2 separate regions of the Homo sapiens genome follow, and region 1 is linked to region 2. Evidence: promoter capture Hi-C in human tissues and cell types (Jung and others, 2019). All regions are on one chromosome and are shown on one strand. Each heading gives the region's core, a stretch centred on a gene start or on the middle of the fragment in contact. The rest is flanking DNA. Distances are from core to core; before and after follow the strand shown. Region 1 overlaps CTBP2 (C-terminal binding protein 2). Region 2 holds the start of TEX36 (testis expressed 36).

What was found. Contacts are between HindIII fragments. The study calls those that stand out against the background at their distance.
Region 1: a contact is called between a fragment that was not itself captured here and the fragment with the promoter of TEX36 in region 2, in 1 of the 25 tissues and cell types used here (IMR-90 fibroblasts).

Annotation. Positions count from the first base shown.
Region 1 is chr10:125,029,226-125,033,318 of GRCh38, forward strand. All of the region lies in intron 3 of CTBP2 (C-terminal binding protein 2), which reads right to left. It overlaps MIR4296 (microRNA 4296), which reads right to left and starts at 3,645; the gene lies at 3,558-3,645. The HindIII fragment of the contact is 5,221 bases long and covers 1-3,957 here.
Region 2 is chr10:125,680,870-125,684,892 of GRCh38, forward strand. TEX36 (testis expressed 36) reads right to left here and starts at 2,294. Exons shown (of 4, transcript NM_001128202.3): 1 at 2,070-2,294. The coding sequence starts at 2,120. It overlaps LOC283038 (a long non-coding RNA gene), which reads left to right and starts at 2,374. Exons shown (of 5, transcript NR_033848.1): 1 at 2,374-2,462. The HindIII fragment of the contact is 13,590 bases long and covers 1-4,023 here.

The DNA.
Region 1 (4,093 bases), core at 97-2,596, 650 kb before region 2:
TTTTTTTTTTTGAGACACAGTTTTTTTTTTTTTTTGAGACCGAGTTTTGCTCGTTTCTCAGGCTGGAGTGCAATGGCGCGATCTCGGCTCACTGCAGTCTCCGCCTCCTGGGTTCAAGCAATTCTCCTGCCTCAGCCTCACAAGTAGCTGGGATTACAGGTGTGCACCACCACACCCAGCTAATTTTTATATTTTTAGTAGAGCCTACCATGTCTCTACTCTATCTACTTCACCATGTTGGCCAGACTGGTCTCAAACTCCTGACCTCAGGTGATCCACCCACCTCAGCCTCCCAAGGTGCTGGGATTACAGGCATGAGCCACTGCGCCTGGCCAGCGCCTCAGGATTAAGCCACCTTGCCAATTTCTTTCCTCCCCTTGTTGTAATGAACAACATGACCTTATGTGGTGTTAGTACTATGCTACCCCACTCATGGTGCATGCACACCCCTCAAAGATGGGTGGATAAACTTGGAGCATTCCGGGAAAATCCCCCATGCCAAGTCTTTTTTGTAGCAGGGTGAGGTAGCTCTGTTGACTCACCAGCTTCTTTGCTATCTGGTTTTCAGCTCAGCAAGTTCTCAAATGTAAACAGGGCTCTATAGAAGAATGTTTACCCGGTAGCGCCTAAGAAACCAGTAATGATTCTTCAGAGAGGTTACTGAGCTGGTGTCCAAGGGGTGATCGCAGGAGCAGGGCAGATGTGGGCAGATGCGCTTTGGGGCAGCATCAGCCTCCCATTGAACCAGGAGGCCCAGCTTCCATTTCTATCAACTTTCAACCTGTTCTGCTTGGAAACCACCCAAACTCGCACAGCCTTGGCTCTGAGATTTGACAAATATTATGACAGATGTTTTCCTGCGCTAGGTAAAAACACCTGTAACTGGACTCACTTTTCCAAACACTCTGGTTACACAAACACCACACACACACACACACACACACCACACTCCAGTCTTTTAGAAAGGACTGCTTTTCTTAAAAATTCTCATGTTGACTAAAAGTGAGATGGGACCCATTAGAGTAATACATCTCACGGGCTTAATTTTTTAATTCTGCCAAAACCCTCACTATAGAAATTATGTCAAGTAAAAATAAGATGATTGTGTAACATAGCTGTGTCGGGGAGAGAGGCGATGTCCACCCAAAGCCAATTCTGAAGTCCCTGTGCGACACAAGGTGTCAATTAACAACAGAGACCTACAGAGATCCAGACAATTCCAGAGATGGATCCAGACAGTTCCAGAAGAGCTGGGAAGAGAGGCCAGGATGGGGATGATCAGTGGGTACCCTCCGACGGAGCAGTCTTTGGACAAACTGCCAACAAGCATTTCATGTTCCCATTGGAATAATCATGCAGGAAACTGCTTGAAATGAGAGAGAAAACATGACTCTGGGGTCTAATTCTCACTTTTATAGAAAAAGAAGAACAGGTGGGATCAGTGAGTCTGAAGGTTGCAGTAACATGAGGGCCATTTGGCTCAATGGTGTGTCCCTCTTAACTGTGTTGTCACCCGCCCACTTGGTGGGCTGCCAGGTTTGTCTCAAGGCCTTCTCAGGGAATAGCTCATTCTCAGGAGGCAACTTAAGTTCCCAACTGAAGGAACTTAAGGAACAGCTTCCCCAGGGGGGTCCTGCACCTGCCTGGGCTTCCATTCCCTGATCCTGCCTCCACCAACACAAAGGGCCAGGGCAGCTCTGAAGGTGATAGCGGAAATAACATCTCAGGAGGCTCTTCAGCGCCTGCTGCATCCCAGGACGGAGCCACCACAGTGCCCTCTACGTCTCCCACAGCGAGCGCTTCCCTAGGGAGGCTGCAGAAGTTAGCGGGTAACACGGTTTTCTGGCAGACACAGGGCAGAAAAATCGGCCTATGGCATACCCATTTCCTGCTTTTAAATGTGGACAGCCTGTGCTGGATTTTTGTCTGCTTCTGTCAAGTTAAGTGTTGTGGAATTTGTGCCATTAAAAAAGTTTTCTTGGGCCGGGTGCCGTGGCTCATGCCTGTAATCCCAGCACTTTGGGAGACTGAGTGGGGCGGATCACCTGATGTCAGGAGATGGAGACCATCCTGGCCAACATGGCGAAACCCTGTCTCTACTAAAAATACAAAAATTAGCCGGGCGTGGTGGCGGGTGCCTGTAATCCCAGCTACTCGGGAGGCTGAGGCAGGAGAATGGCGTGAACCCGGGAGGTGCAGGTTGCAGTGAGCCGAGACAGAACCATTGCATTCCAGCCTGGGCAACAGAGCAAGACTCCATTTCAAAAAAAAAAAAAAAAAAAAAAAAAGTCTTTCCTCTCATCAACCCCCTACCCCCTGCCCCCGAACGTCCTCAACCCAAAGTAGCCAAGTTGGCTAATCTAACGCAAAGGGTGGGAGGCCACACCAAATGCACTGGTTACATAGCAAACACAAAGTCTGGCTGGGTTTTAAAGCAGCCTTCGTCTAAATCACGCAAGCACACAGCAACAATTAGCAAAACTGCCCAGACATCGTTTCAGGTATCAAAGGGGCTGAGTGCACCGTGCACCCTTGCTTGCACACTGAGTGCTCTCACCAATTTCTGGGCCTGGAGCGCGGAGGCTTGGGCACCCACGCAACGCGCCAAAGGAAGTCAGGAGAGTGACGTCGAGTGTCTGAACCAACCCAGCCTTTTTCAGATTAGCTGCATCCTAAGAAGCCCCAGTCCTCATGTCTCTCAGTATTTAGCCATGGTAAGTGAAAACAAAGGCCTGCACATTGCTTCTGACTCAATTTCTTAACTATATTGTAAAGCTTCCTGGGAACTGCATTATGAAAATTAGACCACTCATTATGGGGTTTCAAAAGAAAAAAAAAAACAAGCCCATTCTCTTGCACTGCCCATTTTGAAAGTGTTGGTGGAGCCAAAGTGTGCAACGGGACCCCAGCTGGGATGCAGGACAGGCCTCACCTTGGACCATGTCAGGATTCCCATTTCTAGCAATGGAACACACTCAACCTCAAGAGGCTGTGCTCAGCTCTGGACAGCACCCGGCACAAGACGCTCCGCACAGTAGGTGCTCAATGAACACCACCCCTTCTGCTCTTTAGCAGCTTTTCCTGCAGATTCCCAAAGTCTCCACCTCACCTCCATGGTGACCCGCCCCATCACACTCCACTGTTTGAGGTCTCCTCGGCTGTCCTGCGATCAGAAGGTCCCAGGATGCCGTCCTTCCTCTGGTTTTGTGAGCAATGCTCCTAATCAGGGCTGGCTCAGCGAGCCCTCCCCCATGAACCTTTCTCAGTCCAATTCTGTCACTTTGTCCTTAGTCCAAAAAACCTGCCACTCCTCAAGATGAGAAAGGCACCCCAAAAATAGTCCAGGGCATGCATGTGCCTGTAGAGACAGGCCAAGGCATGGCCGCTTAGCCCCTGACCTGCGGAGCGGAGCGCACCCCTCCCTCCACAGCACGTGCTCCCTCCATTCATCACGTGCTTTTCATTTTGTTTGACACCCGGGCTGTAAATCAAACTGTCGACTATGACTCAATGGTGATGGACGGCTGGCCTCAAGGGAGTGTACGGTGTGATGGGGAAAAACGACAGAGACATGGACACAGTCCCCAGAAGCCCCTCCCCACAACCACTTCAGCCCTCTGAGCCTGAGCCCACATCAAAGCCCAAACAGCCCCATTTGCAAGCCTGGGCATGGTAGGCACTAAGCTAGGCAAAGCACCCACCGCCCAAATACAAATGGCTGCCTGACAGAGACCTGCTCCACCTGAGCCTGCACACGGACAGTTTCAGCACACGGGCCTTGATGGGACGGTCAGCCTTTCTTAGGATACGAAAGAACTGACTCTCAGCCTCACTCCCAAGTCTCGGATAAATCTGCGTCACCCATCCCAGGTTGCAAATGGGAAGGGAGGAACCCTCCTGGCACAGACATCTCTTCAACCGGAACACGGAAAACAAAACCCTCAGGTGATGAGAAACAGGCTGGAGGGACAGGGAGTGTGGGATCCCACTGTGCCCCAGCGCTGGACACCCAGAATGCTCTCCCCTCTCGGCATCTTCACAGCCCAGCTGGGGTGCTCAGCCAGGCTCCTGCTGGATGTGGAAGGGCTGAGAA
Region 2 (4,023 bases), core at 1,044-3,543:
AAGGATAAAATAAAATTTCTTCCTATGAAATGTTGATTCTCGCTTTCCCCCTTACCACAGAATTCAGGTTCTTCATTCACAGCAGCCATGTGGTTGGTTAAAAAAAACACCTCCTCAGACACCCTTTTAGCTAAATTGGCCATGTGACACAGTGAGATGGAAGCAGAGGTCTAGGGAGCAGGCTCCAGGGAAGGCAGGAAAGTATTGTTTTCCTGATAAAAAGGGGCAGACTTAGGTGACAGGCGCCTTCCATCTTTTTGTCCTTTGACCTTCCTCTTATTTCCCTGCCTGAGTTGTGGATTCACTGTTTGGAGCTGGAGTCATCCCACACTAAGGATGGCAAAACAGAATGCTGAAAAGGGAGCTGCTGATGACTCCCTTGAGCAGCTGTACTAGCCTGGGATGGCCAACTTCTAGGTTTCATTGTTACTTAAGAAATATAAATCCCTATTTGGTTAAGACACTGTAGTCACTTTAGTCAGCCTTCTATAAAATTCAGGCTAACAATTGTAACTGATACATAGGTAATAGCTAGAGGGAAAGCTACTTAATCTGAGCAACTTACATTTTTCTTTTCATGGGAACTTAGCTTTATGGAGTTGACATTATCTCTCATTTTACTTTGGCTGCCAGGGAACTCAGAGTCAAATGTGGTGCCCAAATATCTACCATATAATCCTGGAAATATACCTAATATTATGTCTATGTTATATGTGTTCTCAGACTCAGCCTCTTCTCTTTCTAAAGTATTTATAAAACTAGTTATAACTTTCTATTTGATTTATACTGTATTATTTTATTGTGTACATTTTCCATGCTTTAAATTTTTGTGGAATGAAACAAGGTATACATTTGTGTGTATACACGTATATGTACACATACATACAAAGTGTATATATGTTAAGTGGTTTCTATGTGCTCACTCATTGTACTGAGCACTTGTTAATGAGTCGTGAATCCCCCACCATGGTCTTCTACCCTTGGTACATTATGCTCCCATTTTACAGACAAAGAAACTGAGACTTAGAAAGACTAAGCTGCTTAGCCAAGGTTGTATCCAAGTGGGTAGATCAGTTTTTTAAAGCCTTCAGACCCAAATTTGCTGAAGTGTTTTCTGTTTTTCTTTGAAACAAATTAAAATTTTAACAATTTTTTACCTGTTGCTACCCTAAAAGAAGTCGACGTCAGGTTTTTCTCTGATTATGTTTCTCATTGCGAGTCTACTGCTGTGATTTCCCCTTAACATTCTTTTTGTGAATGAATTGTAGAAATCAGAAATGGGAAAGGCTTGAGGCTTGTCGGCCATGAAATATACATGTTGAAGAGCAAAGGAGAGAAGTGCTTGGCCGACAAGGCTAAGACCTCACACTTAGGAGTGACCCAAATGTTTCCTGAAGATGGTAGAAGAGTGAAAAATCCCACAGGCTCTGTAAGTGACATCAGAAGAGCAAGAGTTGGGGGAGAGCGTGAAGCTGGAAAGGGAAAGTTTTCAAGTGATGAAGATGAGTAAATGATGCATTCCTGGACTCTTCTCATTTCATAGGCCGGAGGGGCTAAAGGAATTGGATTGGGAGCCAACAAGAATTTGTTTAGAGGTTTCTAGTATAATATAATTACTTCAACACATATGTATTGAGTGCCTTCTATGCTCCAGATCCTGTTCTAGGCACTGGGGATACATCAGTGAATAAAATAGACAAAAATCCCAGCTCCATGGAGCTTATATTCTAGCAAGGGGAGAAAAATAACATAGATAAGAGAATAAGTTCTGTAGTATGTTAGAAAATAGATGTTAAGGAAGAAAGAAAAAGTAGAGCAGGAATGACTGCTTAGTGGACATTCACGAGGTTCCAGTGTGCTGAGCATTTTACATGCATTATTTCATTCAATCTTTGCAAGAGTGTTAGAGGATTCCCATGTCACAGATGAAGAAACTGAGGTTGAGTAAAGTGAAGTGATTTGTCAAAGGTCATGCTTCAGTAATAGTAGAAGCAGGATTGGAACTCCTCAGACTGTTGACCACACCCACGTGGCATGAGAAAGGCACCAGGGGCCACCATCTTCCTTACCCATCTCCCATCCTTGTCTGAAGGTGGGTTGAAGCGTCGCCCTTTGGTCATTCTCTCCAGGAAGCTGAATGTGGCTGAGATTGGCTCCCTCACCTCTCCATAAGCTCTACATGTCTGGGAAGCTGCTTCCTAAACTTCATAAGCTCTACACGTCTGGGAAGCTCCTCCTCCTCCTTGTTCCTGATCTTTACTTCTCAGCCTCTTCCAGGAGGGGAAGGTGCGGGTGCCCATTGTTGTCATGGAATGGGAACTCACCCATCACAATGGGCAAAGGAGTCTTCTAAACCCTCGGAGGATTCTTGCCACTGGTTCCTTGCAGCTGTGACTCCCCAGGGTAAGAGGCAAAGAGCCACCAGGTCCCAGCTGAGGAAGCCCTGTGGTCAGCTCAGACAGGTAAGGACAAGATGATTTGGGGGTAATGGCAAACATTTTGTACCCTCTCAATTTTTGAACCAATAATGTTTGAGTTGCATGTCCCCCTGGCAACTGTATGTTCCAACCTGTTAGTTTTCAGAGAAGTAAGTTGAGTCCCAGGCTGGGGGTGACCTTGTCTGCATCAGTGGCACTGCTGCACCCAGGACCCACGCTGCCTACCATCTCCTTCTGTGGCAGCCTCTGTGTCTCAGCTCGGACCCAACCTCAGGACTCACTCACAGCCACTCTTACCTGCCTGGCACAGCATTGAGACCATGAGGAAGTAACACTCATGAATAATTATTATATGCCAAGTGCTGTGCTAAACTAAACATTCACCTGTTTTTATTTTTTCTCCACGACAACCTTCAACATTTACAAATAGGAAACAAGGGACATACAGCAATGGATGGGATGCCACAAGTCCCAGCAAGGTCATGGGCCAGCTCCAGAGCTCATGAGCCTTGCCAAGGGCCACCTGGCATCCCCAGGGCTGCAAAGGCTGCTCGTGAAATCTGGCGTTTCTCTCGGGGCCTGGACACACACGTCCTGCCTCCCTTCTACTCAGTAAGGTGTTTTCTGCTTTTCTTTCTTTCTTTTTTTTTTTAATGTTGTGTCTTGCCAATTCTCTTGGCTACTCCGTGTGAATACGAGAGTAAACACATGCAGGACAACCTGTCCAGCTGCTCTCTCACTCAGAAATTGTGTCCTCCACCCTTTCCTCCTCCAGTCACCCTCCTAGGTTTTCCAAGGAGAGTTGCTGTAGTAGTGATAGAGGACCTTATCCACTGCCAGCACTGAAGGGCCAGAGGTGGCCCTTAGATGTGACACCGGAGATGCACAGGTCCTCTTGCACTATGATGCCAAAAGCCACATGGTAAGGAGAGGAGGAAAAGGTGGTGGGCCACCTCTTTTGGTGTTGCAGAGCTGCTGTACCAGGCAATACTGTTGTGTGTGGAGTAAACCCTTCCAGGATTTCTGCTACCTGCTGACAAACCCAGTGCAACAGACACTATTTTTCACCTTTACCAGGCATTGCCCACTGCTCTCCAAAGCCCAGGTGTAAAGAAATACTCCCAGCAGCAGCAGTGCAAGGGAGTTCTGTCGTCTCACAGCCTTGCCAAGACGCACTATATTGATTACGAACAAATTTGACTGGGACAGGAAACCCGAACTAACAGGGGCTTAAACATGATAGACATTTATTCTCTCTGCGTAGTGAAGTCCAGAGGGAAGTAGTCCAGGCTCGATATGGTGGCTCTGCTGTTCAGGATTCTCAGAGATGAGGCTCCCTCCCACCTACCACCACTCACCAGCTCCAGGGGGCAGCTGTCATCACTTGGCCCCAGATGGCATCTGCGTTCCAGGCAGCAGAATGCAGAAAGGGAAGTAGAGGGGAAAGGGCGTGTCCCCATGGATCATATTGGGCCAACCCCAGTTGGCTCAGCTGCTTCCTCCTAAGGAAGTTTCCTGGCAGCTGCCATACAACACTTCCTCTCGTGGGCCAGGACTTCAACCACATAGTCAGGCCTCACTGTAA